Linked DNA regions of Homo sapiens: region 2 is linked to region 1. Evidence: promoter capture Hi-C in human tissues and cell types (Jung and others, 2019). All regions are on one chromosome and are shown on one strand. Each heading gives the region's core, a stretch centred on a gene start or on the middle of the fragment in contact. The rest is flanking DNA. Distances are from core to core; before and after follow the strand shown.

Region 1 (5,664 bases), core at 1,112-3,611:
GTTGGTCAAGATGAGATCTACTAATTCCAACCCTTATGGAGAACAAACTGGATTGGTCAGTTACGTGTTGATTACTGCTGGATGATAATATGTGATTAAGATGGGAAAAAGAAATTACTGTGGAAGGGCTGAGTCGATGTCCTTCTAGCAAGTATATTAGACATGAAGACCAGCAAGTGTATTAGAACTTGCACCCAAAGGTTGAGTGGAAAAGACTTATTTTTTTGTTCCATTGTACAAGTAGTTCATGTTTTAGAAATAGACTCTAGCCTAAAATTTCAGTAGAATGCAGGATGCATTTTCTCATAGAAGTAAAGATATAAATTACAGATAGTTGCTTAGGGCAGCCTACAGATTTCTCTTTCATCCAGAACATACAGGAAGTATTCTGTATTGGCAATAAATACAATGGAAATAATAGAAAAATAAAAATAAAAAATTCTTAATTATGCTAACATTAAAACTGTACTTAAAGGACTACATATATATAGATATATAGAGAGAACCATGTGGAAAATGCTTATGATTTAAAGTATAAAGCAAGAAATAGGTTGGCTGCAGTGGCTCACACCTATAATCCTAGCACTTCGGGAGGCCAAGGCAGATAGATTGTTTGAACACAGGAGTTCGAGACCAGCCTGGGAAACATGGCAAAACCTTGTCTCTACAAAAGAAATACAAAAATTGGTTGAGCATAGTGGCGCACCCAGTAGGCTGAGGTTGGAGGATCACCTGAGACCTGGAGGTCAAGGCTGCAGTGAGCTGTGATTGCGTGATTGCATCACTGAGCTCTAGCCTGGGTGACAGTGAAACCCTGCAGAAAAAAAGAAAGGAAAAGGAAAAGAAAAGAGAAGATAAAAGAAAAAAAATCCTATACACACAATGAATATAACTATAAACACATAAGTAGATATGATGAGAAATCAGTATACAAGAATCAGTCAACATGATGGGATTTACAATTAACTTTTTCTCTTTTGGAATGCCCATAATGTTAAACTACTAGCACTTCTTTAAATTCATCTTTTAAAATATTCTACACACACACACACACACACGCACATCTATGTCAAAATTTAAATATAAATATTGAGACCTGATAATATGAACTCAGTCTCTATCTCTTAAATTAGTCCCGTAAGACCATCACTCAACCAGAAACTCTGGCTGTGAGTCCTGCAGGCAACTTGGGCTTTCCCTCTCCTACCTACTCACTGCCCATGTCACTGCCAGTCACCAGCTGCTCCTTATTCTGCAAACCAGGTCAGTGCACTCAGCCACACCTTTCTGCATTCAGCCCAGGTGGCCCCTTCCTACTGCCACCTACCTGGATTAAGTCCTGGTACCTCTGGCTCAGCCTCTTCCAATAAGATATTTCACGATGCCAAAGACTTGGTTCTGCTGATTCCTGAATCATCCTGCAAACCCATCCTCCCCCTCCTCACCTTCCATGTTTAACACCCAGCTCTGTCTGGATCACTTGCCTGCTTACAGAGAGCAGGCCCTCTAGAGCCTCTTCAACCACCCTTTCAGGCTCATCGTCCACTATCCCTCACTAATCTCAGTTTCCATCCCCAGGACTTTTTTTCTCTACCAAGAATGCCCTCTCTCCCAACATAATTATCTGAATCCCACCTACCTTTCAAAGTCCAACTCAAATAGTATCCCCTCCTTAAAAGGATGTTCTGCCCTGCTAAACATGCTTCTTCCTCCTGAATGTGCCTCCTGAACTCTTCTCCTGATTAAACATACACAGCTACCTTGAATTGTGGTAATTGGCTGCCTCTTTATTGCTTTCCTACTGAATTATAAACCCTTGCCTTTGAATATTTTGTTTTTAATCCTATATAGTTTTATGCACTGTTGGCAACAAAAATATATTTCCTTAATAAATCAATAAAAAAAGGTCTAAAAAAGCAACAAATTTAAAAGTTCCACGACTTATTTTTTCAAGTTTAATCTGTAACAAGCAGATTTTGACTTAATCTCACAGCTGGGTTTTTAAGAAGTCAAATTTCATTGGTATGCCCCAGATAACACCCTCACTCCTTCCTTTTCTCTTTCCCTCTCAGACTCTCTGCAGAATGAGAGCCTCATCTCAAATTGTCTCTGCCCATACAAACACAGAACTTTTGATAGTTTTATTGTTTATACTTATAGACCTGACCAAGCAAGCTCCTCAAGATAGGGTTGTTAAAGGGCTACAGCCAACCTGATTCTCTACATCTGAAACAATAATTACAGAGCTCTTCTGGAATAATCAAATCATAAAACTCTACCTCGTAGGATGGAACAGAAACATTGGCTCAGCTAAAGAGTGGGTGTTTTCCTTAGATTGTGGAATCATGGCTGATGGTTAGGACCTTAAATATATCGAGGTGGCTAATTGATGTATAATAATTTACAAAATTATTCTTCTATGCTACAGAGCTACAATTCAATTTACAGTAGTAAATATGAGGGCCTTCTTAAGGAACCAGAAATATGAGGATATGCACAATATTATTCACATTTTACAGATCAGAAAATTGAGGCACAGATTAAGTAACTTCCCAAGGCTACCAGGCATTCTAGCTCCAGAAACTGTGCTCTTACCATTCTGCTACAAGGTATTTCGAAAAAAAGAAAAAGTAAAAAGAAGTCAAAAGGCAACAGAGTTCATTGATTATTCCATAGAACAGTCACACCATGCAATTCTCACACCCTTGCAGACACACTTGACCATGAAAGGTTCCTCAATGAAATGTTCCTCATTATCTTCAGAAGCCATATTATTCACATTGACTTTGCAGTTAACTCAGACCCTAGGTCTGGAATGCTGTCTTCTCTACTTATCCAAAACTATACATCCACAGATCATATAAACTCTCAGCCCTGCTGCAAAGCCTTTCCAGAAAAATAAAAATGGTTGAAAAGGCAATTCTGCTACCAATGACTGTTTAAGCCCAGCCAAGTAACTGAACCATTCCAACTTCAATTTACTTATGAAAAGAATTTGATGATGTAGGAGGTTATTTCAATTCTAAAATACAAACCCATGTTGATCTTTCTCAATCTTGAACTCATAGATTATTATCTATTATCTCAATTTAGTTTGTTATTTATCCTAGTGGGCCATTAAAAACTACCACATGTGTTTCTGTCTCTCCATTAGTCAATAACTAAACTAACGAGCAATTAGTAAGCCATGTGCCAGATGCTCCGCTAGGCACCAGAGGGATAAAAACAATACTTATAGTATACCACTAATTTTCGCTTAGTAACTAGTGAAATGTTCAAGTCATGCCTGAGTCAAGAGTTGAGGAGACATTACAATGTGTAATGGAAACCAAGGAAAGTGAAACTTTGGATAAGTGGGGACTAGTGTATTTATATATTTAATTGATTTCTGACTCTATCATTGGCCTCCAAACACAGATTGTGTTTTTCTTTGGTTTTGTTTTCTTCACTATGGGATCTTCTGTGCCCAGCACAGTGCCTGACACATAGAAAACAATCAAATATTTGCTGAATAAATGATTAAAAAATCAGAGAACTTTCCCATTCTGTTTGGATCTATAGAACATCCAGAGTAAGTGATGAGGGCCTCTGCATTTATATGCGCTTAAATTAAGATTATGTGAGAAAAGTTTAAAGACACTTAGTAGAGTGATTTTGAAATATAGTAAACACTTGGAAATGGTGGTGCTTTAAAAAGATATTAATAGATAATATGAAAATCTCCATCTCAAAAATAATGCATAAACTATTTAAAGGAAAATCACATCTCCAGGCTTTCAATGTTTGTTCATTACTTTTTCATATATTTTTACCATCTGCTGAAGGCAGTCATATCAAAGGGTAAAGAAAGATGGGAGGAAAACTCAGTAAGAATTATATTAGTCTGTTTGCAAAGTAGAAAAAGATTCTCATCACTCAACCTTATGAGCAGGAAGAGGGAAGGCTGTTTGAGAACCATTTACTTAGCAGAACCACATATTTTAGACACTTCCCTGCATTAACTGCACAAACAATATGTTTGCAAACTTGTTAGATCAACCTCCAACAACGACACATTCAGGAGTTAAATATTTTTCATCAAACATTGGATTTTTCCTTAACGCTAGAGATTGCTACAAATCTTCTGAAGGGTCTCAATGGCTTCAGGCTAAGAAGAGATTTCTCCCTGTTATAAGCAGCAAGACAAATTAGCCATTTCACTCTCAAACTTCACTAATGATCACATTCTTTCCAAAAGGAACTCTAGAAGACCAAATGCCCCGAGTTAAGAACATCAAAACTAACCATCTGAAGAAACTTCCCAAGTGTAAGACTCTGCCATTAAAACATTACCGAGAGGGGACTCAAACAGTCTTTCTTCCTTTGTCGTGTTTCTTGCTCCCAGACCAAGGCACTGACGACAGTACTGATACATAATTTAAAAGCACACTCCCTTCCACTTTGTAATACCAGAACTCTAATTGGACACCCTGAAGCTTAGGACTACCAGCCATACAAATAGTAAACTCTGTCCACGATTCACTCATCTGTGTATTTTCTATAGATGTTTACTAGGCGTTTGTTATATAAAAATACCCCGGCCAGGCACGGTGGCTCACGCCTGTAATCCCAGCACTTTGGGAGGTGGGTGGATCACCTGAGGTCGGGAGTTCGAGACCAGCCTGACCAGCATGGTGGAACCCCCATCTCTACTAAAAACACAAAAAATTAGCCGGGCGTGGTGGCACATGCCTGTAATCCCAGCTACTCAGGAGGCTGAGGCGGAGAATTGCTTGAACCCGGAAGGTGGAGGTTGCGGTGAGCTGAGATTGCACTATTGCACTCCAGCCTGGGCAACAGGAGTAAAACTCCCCCCCACCCAAAAAAAAAAACAACAACAACAAAAAACCAAAAAACCAAAAAACCAATGGTAAATTACACTCTTTCCCTTTCCCCAACACTCTCTCTCTCTCTCTCTCTCTTTCACACACACACACACACACACACACACACACACACACACACACACACCAGACCGATTAGCTAACTTAGTGGAAAAGACACTTAGATTCCTTCTTCATATGTGAATTTAGCTCACAGGACTAGTGAGGGAATATCATTATCACGGGAAGACACAGAAACCACACAGGACTCTGAGCCACTCCTAGTTTTACCCCTCCTTAGCCTGTGACTTGGCTTTTCTGCTCCATCATCTACACAAGAAGAATAGCAGTGACTAGCACCCACAAGCCTCTCAGGATAGACTTGGCAGGCAAGGTAACCCACCACTTAAGAGCACAGGTTTAACTCCAGGCTGAATACTGCCCTGGTCATTTCACTAGCTGTGTGACCTTAGTATCAATATGTCTGGTGCATAAAAAATGTTAAATGATAAGCCCCTGTCATTTCTCCTTTAAAAATTGCAAAGCACTCTACGAATATTCACTTCTATTATCTAAAAATGCACATAAAAAAGACACCCAGTAATAGAATATTCATCAAATGCTCTCTCAGTGTCCAGCATCATCTCCTTCCTTATCGCCAAAGCCAGCCTGCCCTCCCCAGATAGGATGCCCACATCTCCCACATGCTTACAGAGGCGAACAGCCAGCCATAATTCCATTCGGCAGCCTTTGAAGACTCAGCCAGCTGTATCAGTTAATAACCTCACTAAAGGTTATCCAT
Region 2 (5,664 bases), core at 1,839-4,338, 61 kb after region 1:
TTTTGAACATGTTCAGATTGAAATGATAATGAGATACTTGTAGATTTTTTTTATGGACAGGAACTCAGGATAGAGCTCTGGGAGGGATGCCAGTATTTGAAGGGTGGTAAATATAGGAGTTGTTGATGCCTCGAGTTTGACAAAGGTTGCACAAGAGAGGGAGTGACGGCCCCCCTAATTCTCAAATCATGGGTACAGGAGCAAGGGCCCAGGGAGGAGGCTGAGAGGAGCAGTCCGAAATCCGAGGTGTAGGGGGTCAGCCAGGGGAGGGACTGCCATTGGAGGGTGTCCAACACATGGGGATGTCAGACTACTCCTTCGGCGCTCTTGGTACTGAGGAGGCAAAACCTACAAAGTCCCAGCCCCCAAGGATGCTTCTACCGCTACCCTCACGCCCAGTGAAGCCATCATTTAAAGAAAGGTTTAAAAAAAAAAAAGTAAAAACGCCGCAGCAGATAATGTACTTGGGTTAAAGAAAATTGTTAACTATTTGGAAAAATATATAGATCACAACTTTATATCGTGTAGCAAAATAAATTACAAATGTATTAAAAATTAAATTTAAGAATTAAATGATGAAAAGTTTAGAAGAAAGCATAAGTGAATATACTTATCTTAATGCATTAAGATTATTTCTAACAAACTAAGGCAGAAACTGAAGGAAAAAAGGTCAATAGATTTGACTATTTGAATATTTAAGACCTTTATGCCAAAAGTTTCATACAAAATTAAAAAGCAAATGATACTCTGAGGGATGGATTGAAGGAAGAAAAGATGATACCTCTAAATCTTAATTATATGTGGATTTATATTTTTGAATCTATTTTAAAGTATTTACTAGTTTTACAATTAAAAACAATTTCGTTTAAGCTGCAAACTAGGAAAATGTTTATATTAATGTCAGACATATAAAGTTTGAATAGCTTTGTTAAAAAAAAAAAGCTTTAACAAAGAATTAAAAAACAAATGCTCCTTCTTTTTTAAAAAAGCCAATATATATAAAGTCAGTTTACAGAGGAGAGAATACATATGACCCCATAAACTTATAAAAAATGTTCAAGTGCCTAATAAAGAGAACAAACTTTTAAATAAGATGCTATTTTCTATTAATCAAATTGACTGAGAGATTTTTTAAATGTTATTGAAGGAGCTGAACAACAAGGTCCTCTCATGTCTTGGGTGCTGGTCAGAGTGTAACTTGGTACTACATTCCTGGAGGGAGGGAGCCTGGATGTGTATGTGGCATAGGTATAGCTTTGACCTAACAATTCCACTTCTGGGAATTCATCCTAAGAAAGTGATTATGGAAATGGATAAGGATCTTTCTACAAGCATTTCAGTGTGTCTTTCAATTCTAAAAAAAGAGAAAACTAAATATGCAACAAGGATATGGATAGATAACCCATGATATATTCATAAAGCATCATATTATATAGCCTTTGAGAATAATGTGGGGGACTAGGCATGTTGGCTCATGCCTGTAATCCCAGCACTTTCGGAGGCTGAGGCAGGCAGATTGGTTCAGCCGAGGAGTTTGAGAGCAGCCTGGGCAACATGGCAAGACCTCATCTCTACTAAAAAAAAAAATTGTTTTTAATTTAAAAAGAATAATGTGGGAGAGAAATATTGAATAATATGAAAAGTGGTGTCGGGGGCAGTGGCTCACACCTGTAATCCCAGCACTTTGAGATGCCAAGGCAGGTGGATCGCCTGAGGTCAGGAGTTGGAGACCAGCCTGGCCAACATGGTGAGAACCCCCCTGCCTCTACTAAAAATACAAAAATTAGCCGGGTGTGGTGGCACATGCCTGTAATCCCAGCTACTCAAGAGGCTGAGGCACAAGAAGTGCTTGAACCCTGAGGCAGAGGTTGCAGTGAGCTGAGATCTCGCCACTGCGCTCCAGCCTGGGCGACAGAGCAAGACACTGTCTCAAAAAAAAAAAAAAAAAAAAAAAAAAAAAAAAAAAGACAGAGAAAGAAAAAAAAAAAGAAAAGTGGCTTATACTATATACTTAAGTAAGCAAATTGTAAAATGCTATGTACTTTTGTATACTACATGATTCCAATTTTATTTAAATATTTGATGTAGATGTATATATAAGTTCAAAAATACATGCATATATGTACATACATATCTATCAAAAGTACATACAAAATATTAAGTGATTATCTTTGATGGGCTTATAGGTGAGTTTATTTTTCATTAAATATTTTTACTTTTATAATCAGAAGTGTTATTCTAAAAAAAAAAGTGGCACAAAAATGAAATAAAAGTAGTATCCAGGCAACAAGGTCAACATCCAGAGAAAGGACAAAGATAAACACAGAAAATGATGTAATGAATGTGAGAGAGTTAGGATCCCGTGGAAGCCAGACCCGGGAGAAATGATGACTGCAGCCTGGTTGCAGTGGATTAAGAGCTGGTGAAATCACACGGATAAACAACCCAGTGGATGGCTATGAAGGAAAGTAAACACCTTTCTACTTTTTTTCTATAACTCACAGTAGAAAATATGCTTTACATTATCATCCAGTGTTTACATACATGTATAGATATGTTAAAAAACTGAAACAACAGTTTTAGGTATAAAACAGTACATACTGTTAACTAGAATAGTTACTACTAAGCATGATTTCATTCACTGCAGCAGGCATACTTGCCTGTTCCTAAATTCATTCTGGGTTGCGGGCATGAGGACAATCACAGTGGTTTGCTCTGTGATGCCTATTTCTTTCCAATGTTTTTAGTTTTGTTGCTTAAAAATTCTGGCTCACACAAATAAGTTGCTGTGAATGCTATTAATAACAACAGTGAACTCTGTTTAGCAATGGAAAGTCTTCTTTAATCTTAATCTAAAATGGCTATAAACTTATAATCATTCTTCAATGTATTAAAGTATTAGAGATTAGCTTTCTTCTTTGAGTATCAACTTTAATATGGATTCAGGATTTTGGAAAACAGATCTTTTATCAATTTTTTCCTCAATATTTCAAATTTCTCTTTTTGAAATTATTAAAGTTTATAACAGAGACGTAATATAACTAATATCATTTTTCTATTCAAAATGTCTTCATTAATTTTCTCTTTATGTGTTACAAAATTGTGCACACATAGTAACCACAGTGATTACTTAAAATGTATTGGTTAGTGTTGGATATATTAAACATCTTGAAATATATTGTTACTTTTTCCCTGTAGATCCAAATTCAGTTAGTTTAAAATGTCAAAAAAATTAGTCCTATATGCAGATTCTTCTGGTGAAATATCATCTTCAAAATGCCAAATGAGATTGCTTTTCAAATAGGAAAATATGAATCCTGTTCCTGAGTTCATATAATTTAATGAGTACTTTCCTCGTAACAATCAATAACTTCAGTACGATGCAACATGTACATGTTATTTGATGGAAAGGCTAAGTTGTTTTAACAAAGACCCAACAATACAGTGGTTTACAAAGCATAGACACTTACTTCTCTCTTCAATTAAACCCTGAGTCAGTGGTTGAGGTTGGTGCAGCAGGTCCCAGGAGATTAAGTGACCATATACCTTAAATGTTACTGTTTCCTCATCCCATAGGGGGTTGTTCTCATTTGTGTGTCTCAAAGATATGTACCAGGCACATTGTGTTCTAGCCCATAGGAAGAGGAAAAGAGAGTAGAGGAGTCCATGCCTCAGAGGCAGAAGTTACACAAATCTCATATATTGCATTGGTGAAGACAGAGTTGCAGAGATATACCTGAGTAATCACAGCTCTCTTCCTATGGCATAGGGAGGGGAATCATTAGCCACAGATCCAATTTCTGAACAAAACATATCAAAAATTGAAGGTTCCCTTAATAAAATTAAACAACTATCGTTACTTTTGTTTTCAAGTCCAAAAGATTTAGTGCAATTGTTAGGATGCAAAATCTTTGTAATGTATAAAACACAGATTTTAAATAATGTACAGAGTAGCTTCTAACAATATTTTAAATTATCTTTCCATGTCTCCTGGTCGTATTTACTTCTGAATCACTCACAATTCCGTTACAATTTTCCAGTTGAACTTATGTTTCTCAAGTAGTTTTGTGTTAGGTTAAATGGAAACAACACAATAAATCCTTTATAAAAATCATATTTTCATACATATTTGGCATAAACTAAAGTCTAAGTAATGTGAAATATTAGTGTTCTCATTAAGTGGAATTATACAACCTGTGTCTGCCTGTATGTGCCTAATAAGTATAAATTCTATTCTGTATATTCTTTAGAACTATAATATGACTTAGAAGTATAATTTTAAATTTCTCTGCTGATTTATCAAGAATCATATTCACTATAACCATGTATGCTGAGAACAACTTTTTTAGGAGCTGTTTAATTTTTTTCCTTTTGCTGCATACATGTGACTAATTATGATAGTAATGCTTTTTCATTAAAACCAATGTGAAATCATGTTGACAAATTTACATCTTTTTTTCTTTGAAAATATTTGAAGGCCTTATGAACAAATTTGGCTTGCTATATTTCAAGTGATTTTTTTGGAAGATCTTAAGCTTTTATTTACAAGAATGTCATTACAAATAATACATTTTCAGTGAGTTTTGAGTAATCGACAAGCTATACTTTATCATTATTAAAATGATTTGCACTTCTTTGGCTTATAGTTCAAATAATAGAATTTATTAATTTAAAAAGACATTTTTCTTAATGTTGTCACTATGTACATGTCCAAATCTGGTAGTTCTGCCAGAACATGCCTCTGTGTTTTTCACACGACTGTTTTTATTTCTTCTAATAATAAAATAAACTGTGTTAAGGATAGTTGGTATAACTTTGATTAAAATGTACAATTATCACAAGGTTGAAAAATGCCTGACAGTTATGCCTAATTCAAAAAGCACACTGAAATCTTCTAACTCATAGCCAAACCTTGGTGGAAAGTCTTCCTGCCTTTGCCAAGACTAGATAAAGTTCTTCTAAACCTCACTTTATAATTAGCTATAAATTACATTGACATAAAATGAAACTATAAAACATGAACTCTCCTGATACAATTATGATCAATTCCAAAAAATCAGCTGAGACACCAGTGAGCAGAAGAGTGACTGGCTGGCAGTTCCCAGCCAATGCATATATTCATTACCTCTCATTCTCCAGCTGTCACTCAACTCAGTTGTCTGCAGGATTTGTGGCAATGTGGACACCTCCTGCTAGGAATATACGTGTTGCATTCTGATATTGTAGGTTCCATACTAATTCATTTCTTAATATATTTTTATGAAACAGACTCATTAATTTCACAACCCACTCATGGGGAGAAGCATGAAATTTGGAAAACACCAGACCAGAGGAAAATTTGTGATTAAACAGCCTAGTGGTGGGGAGTATATTTATACAGTGAAAGAAAAAAAGACATAAAAGCAGGGTTGAAAAAAGGCAGGAGGATGCCAGCCTAATGGGGGAAACAAGTATGCTAAGAAGATGGGAAAGAGGGTACCTAGAGTATAGACAGAGTCATTGCCCAGTTAGGGGATGAAGGCCAATTTACGGATATGAGTGGGGCATGAAGATAGAAAGCTGATTTTTTATATTGTTTAGTTGTTGATGTAGAGACAGGAATTTGTGGGAGCTACACCTGGTGACTTCTGTTTTGCTTATGAAACAAGAAGACATATGCTGAAT

Evidence for each region. The method cuts DNA at HindIII sites, captures the fragments that hold promoters and counts their contacts. A contact is called where the count stands out against the background at its distance.
Region 2: a fragment that was not itself captured here is called in contact with the fragment with the promoter of PBOV1 in region 1 in 1 of the 25 tissues and cell types used here (hippocampus).

The regions. Positions count from the first base shown.
Region 1 is chr6:138,215,188-138,220,851 of GRCh38, reverse strand. PBOV1 (prostate and breast cancer overexpressed 1) reads left to right here and starts at 2,361. Exons shown (of 1, transcript NM_021635.3): 1 at 2,361-4,866. The coding sequence starts at 2,457. The coding sequence ends at 2,864. All of the region lies in intron 4 of ARFGEF3 (ARFGEF family member 3), which reads right to left. The HindIII fragment of the contact is 10,102 bases long and covers 1-5,664 here.
Region 2 is chr6:138,155,121-138,160,784 of GRCh38, reverse strand. No RefSeq gene overlaps it. Among named protein-coding and RNA genes, the nearest start is that of ARFGEF3, 4.0 kb to the left of the region's middle. The HindIII fragment of the contact is 5,876 bases long and covers 151-5,664 here.